Linked DNA regions of Homo sapiens: region 2 is linked to region 1. The links are contacts of gene promoters, found by promoter capture Hi-C in blood cells and fetal thymus (Javierre and others, 2016). All regions are on one chromosome and are shown on one strand. The core of a region is centred on a gene start or on the middle of the fragment in contact, and the rest is flanking DNA. Distances in the headings are between cores, read along the strand shown.

What was found. Contacts are between HindIII fragments. The CHiCAGO score rates a contact against its expected background, and 5 or more counts as called.
Region 2: a contact is called between a fragment that was not itself captured here and the fragment with the promoter of SLCO1C1 in region 1, in 1 of 17 cell types (monocytes). The highest score is 5.3, in monocytes.

What each region holds. Positions count from the first base shown.
Region 1 is chr12:20,693,334-20,697,846 of GRCh38, reverse strand. SLCO1C1 (solute carrier organic anion transporter family member 1C1) reads right to left here and starts at 2,515. Exons shown (of 15, transcript NM_017435.5): 1 at 2,040-2,515. The HindIII fragment of the contact is 4,383 bases long and covers 2,420-4,513 here.
Region 2 is chr12:19,702,091-19,706,787 of GRCh38, reverse strand. No RefSeq gene overlaps it. Among named protein-coding and RNA genes, the nearest start is that of AEBP2, 260 kb to the right of the region's middle. The HindIII fragment of the contact is 4,597 bases long and covers 1-4,114 here.

The DNA.
Region 1 (4,513 bases), core at 1,266-3,765:
AAAGATAGCACAGAAAGGAAAACTTCAGATCAAGCCCATAGATTATAAAAATTCTAAGTAAATGCTAGCAAATCCAAATTAACTCTTGCTCTATGATTAGAATTATTCTAAAAGATGCAACAATTGGTTAATTACAGGAAATTTATTCACCTAAATTACCACATGAATAATTCAAAATAAAAAATAGAATTTCATTACATGAAAAACATCAGTTGATAAAATTCGACATCTATTACTGATTTAAAAAACAAAGTTTAAGAAATGAAGAATATAGAGATTCTTCCTTAACAGTATCTGATACCAACAGCCAACTTCCTATATCTACTGAGTCACTAGGACTACTTTTCTAGAACAGTATTTTGCCAGGACAAGGAAAACAGGGTTTGGGAAATGCAGAGTTATACAATGTTAAATAGGTATCTTTACTACAAAACTATGAGTAAAAATATTGCCAAGCAAGAGATATACAAACCAGAAAGGTTTTAAAATAAGAAACGGATAATTATTAAATTTCTGGCTTAAATTGCAATATTCTTCAAAGGATTAAATTATATAATTCAAATTGGCCTTCTGTTTTTGGGGATTCAGATATCATATTATTTCTCATCAGTCATAATATTAAAGTCAGTGACCAGAAAATACAAATAAATTGTTTAATAATAAAATCTGCTATCATTTATCCTAAATTTATCTTTAAAAGATCCAAAGTGTTACATCTAGAATGCTAATGTCAAAGAGAAAAAATAATTATGTTAAAAACACTACTGAAAAACTTGAGATACTATAGCACATTTTAAGTTATCTAATATATGGAGGTGTTGACACAAAAATCACTGTAACTAAAATTCAAAAGTATAATGAAATATAAATATAGTCATCTCAGTTCACTTTGTGTTAGGGCAAAATAGGATCCAGCTTAAACTATTGGCACTGCATAGCTTTACTGAAGTGTCTTGATGGTTAATGCGCAAATTATTGCAAGTGTAGTATGTTCCAAGGAGGCTACAGTTCATCCCCTGTAAAAAGAGAGGGAAGGAAGCTCAATGACATGAACGGAAAGATCCTTGGGGCCTGCAGGCTCTCTCTCTTCATTTGCAACTGCAGAAGTAGAGCAAGAGTACACAGTTATTCAGAATTATTTGCATTTGGCAAATCCTTAATTGATCTCTGGCCACTTGAATAGATTCTTCCAGGAAAAGACATACGACAGTTTTCATCCAATACCCTGGGTTTGGAGCATAACTTATTCTGGAGGCCAAAGAAAAACAAGCCAAGCAGTTTCTCTTCCTTTGGTTCAAAAACATTGAATAATCAGTCCTCATTAGTTTCAAAATCAGCCCTCCAGATTTTAAATGGAGAGAGCAAGTGGCTTAGGAAGGTTGTAGTTAGATCCCGCAGATGTACTCAACCCCTCTGCTCTGCAACTGACTCGGACTCTGTCCAGCAATCAGTCCCCAAGGACTGCCACAGAGAAAGTCCTAAAGGCAACCACGCTCCTCCCTCTCTTCTCTTGGCCATCTCCTGTGAGGAAAACCTCTGTCCTGGCTTGACTTCTGGACACCAGGATGCCTCCCTTCAGACAAACTAAAAAATAGCCTCACGGCACTTGCTGCAGAGGAGTGTGTGTTGTTTAGAAACTAATTTCTCACCTAATACAAATTATCTGTGTCAGATTCAGATTTAATAAGTACTATTTTTGTGTTGAGTAATGTACGTACTTTTTCTAATCCTTAAAACAACCCAACAAACGTAATATTAGAATTCCATTTTTTAAATTAGATGGCCCAAAGCAATTAAGTGACTTGTCAAAAGCTAAACAATTTATAAGCATGAGACTCAAAATTTGAACTCAAATTTGAGTTTATCTGATTTCTTTAACCAATCTTCTCTCTTATTTCCATCAAACTAATGAGGGGATCATCACCTTTCACTGATATTTTTATGGATAAAACATAAATCGCACAGAAATTAAGGGTTAATCTCCCATAAGAATCTGATGTATTAGTCACAAAATATAAAATGAGAGAACCAAGTCTTACCTGGAGGAAGAGATCAAAGATAGCCAGTTCCTTTCAATGTGCTCAGCAAGAGGATGGACCACACACCACAGACTGAAAGAGGAAACTGAGGTAAACTCCACAGCAATTTTGAACAATTTTGCCAGGTGGGGAGAGTGTGGGTGGACACAAGCAGAGGAGATTAGGGAAAAGAAAAGATGAAGGGCATGGTCTCACCCCTGAGCGATCTCTTCTCTTTCCTCTTTCTTCCTGGCCTCTTTTTTCTGGCAGTCAGCAGAGAATTGGCCACGCTGGCAAGGCCACTGACGTGCATCTCAGCTCCCAGGGCACAGAAAGAGCTGAAGCTTTTGAGCCATTTCTTTGCAATTTGCTGCAAGTTTAAGGCCACACGTGATAAAGCTTTCTTTATGGGAGAGAGTGAATAAAAGAAAAGACCACTTGTGATCTTACTTGCTGATTCCCAGAAAACACAACTCCGCAGGGGGCAGAGGGTAAGGAACAGAAGCCAGAGGAGGGCGGAAGTTTATAACAGAGACCCCTCCTCCTTCCAGAAAGTTTTTAAGCCAACTATTCCTTAGGGACATCACTGGGATCCTTGTGTTTTCTTTGTTTGTGTGTTTTGGTTTTGGTTTGTTTTGTTTTGTCTTTAACGGTTCTTGGGCTAATTTGCTACATGGTTTTCTTTTCCATTGGTGTTCTAGAATCTTTAAGGACCAAGTATCAGGTCACAATCAAAGCTCTGCAGCGCTCTGTACAAAAAGAGTTAATTCTCAGAGACATGATCAGTTGCTCATATTTACAATTTCTATGAGTTTTGAAAACAGAAAAGAAACACGTTGAATTTTTGGCATTCAATTGTTTATTCTGCCTAATTCCAAGGATAAATAAATCCTTGCACTGAGAAAGTCCACAATTCTAATACATTCTTTTTCCAAGAGAAAAACTTTAGAGGATCTTAAGCAGTAGTAGTTTGCATTTATTTTCTACCAATAAATAAATTTGCTACCAGAATTATCCAAGATTCACCCTACTCTTAAGTGGCTGAGACTCTGGGATGGTCACTTAATTTTACTGAGTCTCAACTTCTTCCTTTGTAAAGCAGAATTTTTTTGTTTAAAAAAAAAAAAAACAGATTTATAGGGCTGTTTTAAGGATTAAATTATATAATGTATTCAAAAGCACATTGCAAATGAGCGGAAGGTATCATCATTTTATATATATATATATTTAGTTCACATAATGGTCAGAATAGTTAATATTATTCAAGCACATTTTACTACAAAAGAAAGAAAAGAAAATGCAAGAAAAATGGGTTTATATTAAACCTTGCAATGAAGCAATGGTGTTTTCACACTCTGAAAGGCCAAATATTTTACTTTAACAATCAAACCAGACTTTTCCATCGGAAATAGTGAGCAAACATCCGAATACATTGAGTGTTAGTCTAGACTTCTCAGTGTCTAACAGGTGGCCAGACCACTGTTTTATTCAAGAGGAGACAGTATTTACCAGCCCAAAGGGCATAATTTTCCTCACCAAGAAATGAAATTCTCCCTTGAGAATGTAATTTTGTCTATTCCCAACTGGCTCAGTCTCACTCTCCAACACGATTCCTTTTCTTATTTCCAGAGTCCACAGTTAATGTTACTGTTTTGAATGCACATAATGTTTACACTTATTCAGAGCTTCTTATGTGCAACCTTGCATTGGATTGTAGCCTACTTCAGCCTTTCATTCCCATTTCCAAACTCTAGATGAGGGAGTTAACAAACTTCTATAAAGGGACAAATAAGAAATATTTTAGGTTTTGTAGGACCATGCAATCTCTATCACAACCACTCACCTCTGCCATTCTGGTGGTAAATTAACCACAGACAACATATAAATGAATGCATTTCCTAAGACTGCACTAACAAAGTACTACAAGCTGAGTGACCTAAAACAGAACTTTATTGTCTCACACTTTTGGAGGCCAGAAGTCAAAAATCAAGGTGTCAGCAGAGCCATGCTCCCTCTGAGACCTGTAGGGAAGAATCCTCCTTACCTCTTCCACCTCCTGGTGTTTGCTGACAGCCTGAACTCCTTGTTTTATAGGTGTATCACTCCAACAGCTGCTTCTGTTACCACATGGCCATCTTCTCCCTTTATGTCTCTGTCCTCTGTACTTAAAAAAACGCTAGTCATCTTTGGCTGGGGACCACCCTCATGACCTCATCTTAACTTGATAAGGTCTGCTAAGACTCTCTTTTCAGGAAAGGTGACATTCACAGGTACCGGGGGTTAGGACTTCCTCATATCTTTTTGGGAGACACAATTCAAGCCAGTACACTCATATTTTCATTTTCCTCCTTACTTGAATTTTTTCATGCAATTATTTTAATCACTTCCTTCTGTATACCCTCAATTCTCCTGTTTCTCTTTCAATTTATTGATCTTCCCAGGCAAAGCTCACCTCAGATAAATCCACTTTCTTTCTTCTTAGTATTTGCATCCGC
Region 2 (4,697 bases), core at 567-3,066, 990 kb after region 1:
ACCTGACAGGTAAATTTTTTTTTCTATCATCACCCTCCTCCCATTTTTCACCCTCAGGTAGGCCCTGGTGTCTGTTGTTCCCATCTCTGTGTCCATGTGTACTCAATATTTAGCTCCCACTTATAAATGAGAACATGTAGTATTTGGTTTTCTGTTCCTGCATGAGTTCACTTACGATAATGGCCTCCAGCTCCCACTTATACTTGAGAACATGTGGTATTTCCTTTTCTGTTCCCACATTAGTTCACTTTGGATAATGGCCTCCAAATCCATCTATATTGCTACAAAGGACATGATCTCATTCTGTTTTATGGCTGTATAGTATTCCATTGTGCATATGTGTATATATGCCTGTGTACTATATCCATTACTGGGTATATACCCTTTTAAGCTCTTTGAGAAAGGCTTAACTGCTTTCTACAATAAGTGAACTACTAATAATTTACTTTCCCACCAGCAGTGTATAAGCATTCCCTTTTCTCTACAACCTCACCAGCATCTGTTATTTTTTCACTTTTTAATAACAGCCATTCTCACTGGTATGTGACAGTATCTCATTGTGGTTTTGATTTGCATTTTTCTAATGATTAGTGATGTTGAGGGTTTTTTCACATGCTTGTTGACCGCATGTATGTCTTCTTTTGAAAAGTGTCTGTTCATGTCTTTGTCTACTTTTCAACAGGGTTGTTTTTTGCTTGCAAATTTGTTTAAGTTTCTTATAGATTCTGGATTTTAACCTTTGTTGAATGTGTAGTTTCCAAATATTTTCTCCCATTCCGTAGGTTGTCTGTTTATTCTGTTGATAGGTTTTGTTTGTTTTTGTTTTGGTTTTGCTGTGCAGAAGTACTTTGGTTTGTTAGGTCCCACTTGTCAATTTTTGTTTTTGTTGTAATTATTTTTACCATCTTCATCTCTTCATCATGAAATCTTTGCCAGGATCTGTGTCCAGAATGGTATTTCCTAAGTTTTCTTCTAGGATTTTTAGTTTTAGATTTTACATTAAGTCTTTAACAAATCTCAAGTCGATTTTTGTATATGGTATACAAGAAAGGAGTCCAGTTTCAATCTTCTGCATATGGCTAGCCAGTTTCCCCAGTACCATTTATTGAATACAGAGTCCTTCTCCATTGCTTGTTTCTGTAGACTTTGTCAAAGATCAGATGTTTGAAGGTGTGTACCTCTATTTCTGGGCTTTCTATTCTATTCCATTGTTCTGTGTGTCTATTTTTGTACCAGTACCATGCTATTTTGGTTACTGCAGCCTTGTAGTATCATTTCATGTTGGGTAGTGTGATGTCTCCAGCTTTGTTCTTTTTGCTTAGGATTGCTTTGGCTATTCAGGCTCTTTTTTGGTTCCATATTAATTTTAAAATAGTTTTTTTCTAATTCTGTGAAGAATGTCATTGGTAGTTTGATAGGAATAGCACTGAATCTTTAGATTGCTTTGAGCAGTGTGGCTATTTTGACAATATTGATTCTTCCTATCTATGAGCATGGAATGTTTTTCCATTTGTGTCATCTGATTTCTTTCAGCAGTGTTTTGTAACTATCATTGCAGAGATCTTTCATTCTCTGGTTAGCTGTATTCCTAGGTATTTTATTCTTTTTGTGGCTTTTGTGAATGGGGTTGCATTCTTGATTTGGCTCTCAGCTTGGATGTGGTTGGTGTATGGGAATGCTGCTGATTTTCGTACATTGATTTTGCATCCTGAAACTTTACTGAAGTTGTTTAACAGATCAAGGGGCTTTTGGGCAGAGACTATAGGGTTTTCTAGGTGTAGAATCAGATCATCTGTAAACAAAGATAGTTTGATTTTTCTCTTCCTATTTGGATGCCTTTTATTTCTTTCTCTGGCCTGATTGCTCTGACTAGGACTTCCAGTACTATGTTGAATAGGCATGGTGAGAGTGGACATCCTTTTCTTGTTCTGATTAAGGAGAGTGTTTCCAGCTTTTGTTTGTCCAGTATGATGTTGGCTGTGGGTTTGTGATGGATGGCTCTTATTTTGAGGTATACTCCTTCCATGCCTAGTTTGAGAGTTTTTAACATGAAGAGGTGTTGAATTTTATCAAGTCTTTTCTGCATCTACTGAGATGATAATTTGTTTTCATTTTTAGTTCTGTTTATGTGATGAATGACATTTATTGATTTACATGTTGAACCAACCTTGCAACCCAGGGATAAAGCCTACTTGATTTTCCTGGATAAGGTTTTTTATATGCTTCTGGATTCAGTTTGCTAGTATTTTTCTTGAGAACTTTTGCATTGATATTCATCAAGGATATTTGCCTGAAGTTTTTTTTTTTATTGTGTGTTTGTTTGTTTGTTTGTTTTTTGGTTGTGTCTCTGCCAGGTTTTTGTATCAGAATGATGCTGGTTTCATACAATGAGTTAGGAATGAGTCCCTCCTCCTCAATTTTTCAGAATAGTTTCAGTAGGAATGGTACCAGCTCTTCTTTACATGTCTGGTAGAATTCAGCTGTGAATATGCCTGGGCCTGGAATTTTTTTGGATGGTAGGCTTTTAATTACTGATTCAATTTTGGAACTCAGTATTAATCTGTTCAGAGATTCAGTTTCTTCCTGGTTCAATCATTGGACATTGTACTTTTCCAAGAATTGATCCATTTCTTTGAGGTTTTGTAGTTTGTGTGCATAGAGGTGTTCATAATAGTCTCTGAGGGTTTTTGTACTTCTGTGGGGTCAACGGTAATGTCCCCTTTGTCATTTCTGATTGCATTTGGTGGGGGGGGGGGGGATCTTTTTCTTTTTAGTCTAGCTAGCAATCTAAAATCTTTTTTTTTTTTTTTTTGAGTTTTCGTGTCTCTATTTCCTTCAGTTCAATTCTGATTTTGGTTATTTCCTGTCTTCTGCTAGCTTTGGGGTTGGTTTGCTCTCGTTTTTCTAATTCCTTTAGGTGTGATGTTAGGTTGTTTACATAAAATCTTTCTAACTTTTTGACGGGAGTGTTTACGTGTTATAAACTTTCAACAGTGCTTTAGCTGAGTCCCATAAATTCTGATATGTTGTATCTTGCTCTCATTATTTTCAAAGAATTTCTTTATCTCTGCCTTAATTTCATTGTTTTTCCAAAACTTATTCAGGAACAAGTTGTGTAATTTCTATGTAATTGTAAGGTTTTGAGCAATCTTCTTAGTATTAATTTTTATTTTCATTGCACTGTGGTCTGAGAGTGTGGTTGGTATGATTTCTATTTGCTGAGGCTTGCTTTATGTCTGATTGTGTGGTCAGTTGTAGAGTAAGTACCATGTACAGATAGATGAGAAGAATGTACATTCCATTGTTTTGGGTGGAGAGTTCTGTAGATGTCTATTAGGTCCATTTGGTCAAGCATCAAGTTCAGTTTACAAATATCTTGGTTTTCTGCCTCAGTGATCTGTCTAATACTGTCAGTGGGGTGTTAAATTCTCCCGCTATTATTGTGTAGTTATCTGTGTCTCTTACACTTAGCTAGGTCTCTGAGGATTTGCTTTATTAATCTAGGTGCTCCTGTGTTTGGTGCATGTGTATTTTGAATAGTTAGGTCTTCTTGTTGAACTAAACCCTTTATCATTATGTAATGCCTTTTTTGTCTCTTTTGATTGTTGTTTAAATGTCTGTTTTGTCTGAAATTAGAATAGCAATCCCTGCTTTTTTCTGTTTTTTTATTTGCTTAGATTACTCTCCATTCCTTTACTTTGAGGCTCTGGGTGTTATTGCATGTTAGATGAGTCTCTTGAAAACAACACAAAATTGGTTCTTGCTTCCTTATCAAACTTTCCTCTCCGTGTCTTTTAATTGGGGCATTTAGCCCATTTACATTCAAGATTAATATTGATATGTACAGATTTGATGCTGTCATCTTGTTGTCAGCTGGTTATAATACTGACTTGATTGTGTGTTTTTGTTGTTGTTGTTGTTTGGTTTTATTTATTAATTTATTTTAGTGTTTATGTTCTATGTTCTTAAGTGTGTTTCCATGGTGGCCAGTAATGGTCTTTTTGTTATTTAGTACTGCCCTGAGGGCCTCTTGCAAAACAGGTCTGGTGGCAACAAATTTTCTTAGCATTTGCTTGTCTGAAAAGAATCTTATTTCTCCTTTGCTTATGAAGCTTAGTTTGCTGCATATGAAATTCTTGGTTGGAATTTCTCAAGAATGCCAAATATAGGCCACCAATCTCTTCTGGCTTGTAGGGTTTCTGCTGAAAAGTTCACTGTTAGCCTGATGGGTTTCCCTTTGTAGGTGACCTGCTGCTTTTCTCTAGCTGCCTGTAACATTTTTTTTTTCTTTCATTTAGACCTTAGAGAATCTGATGATTATGTGTCTTGGGGATGATCACCTTGTATAGTATCATGCCGGGGTTCTCTGCATTTCATGAATTTAAATGTTGGTCTCTCTAGCAAGATTGGGGAAATTTTCAGAGAAAATATCATCAAATATATTTTCCAAGTTAATTTCTCTCTCTTCCTGTCTTTCAGGGACACTAAGGAGTCGTTGATTTGATCTCTTTACATAATCCCATATTTCTCTGAAGTTTTGCTTATTCTTCTTTTTGCTTTTTTATCTTTGAGTTATTTCAGAGAAGTAGTTTTCAAGTTCTGAGATTCTTTCCTCAGTAGATTCTGCTTTTAATACTTGCAATTGTATTATGAAATTCTTGAAGTGAGTTTATCAGCTTTATCAGATCAGTTTGGTT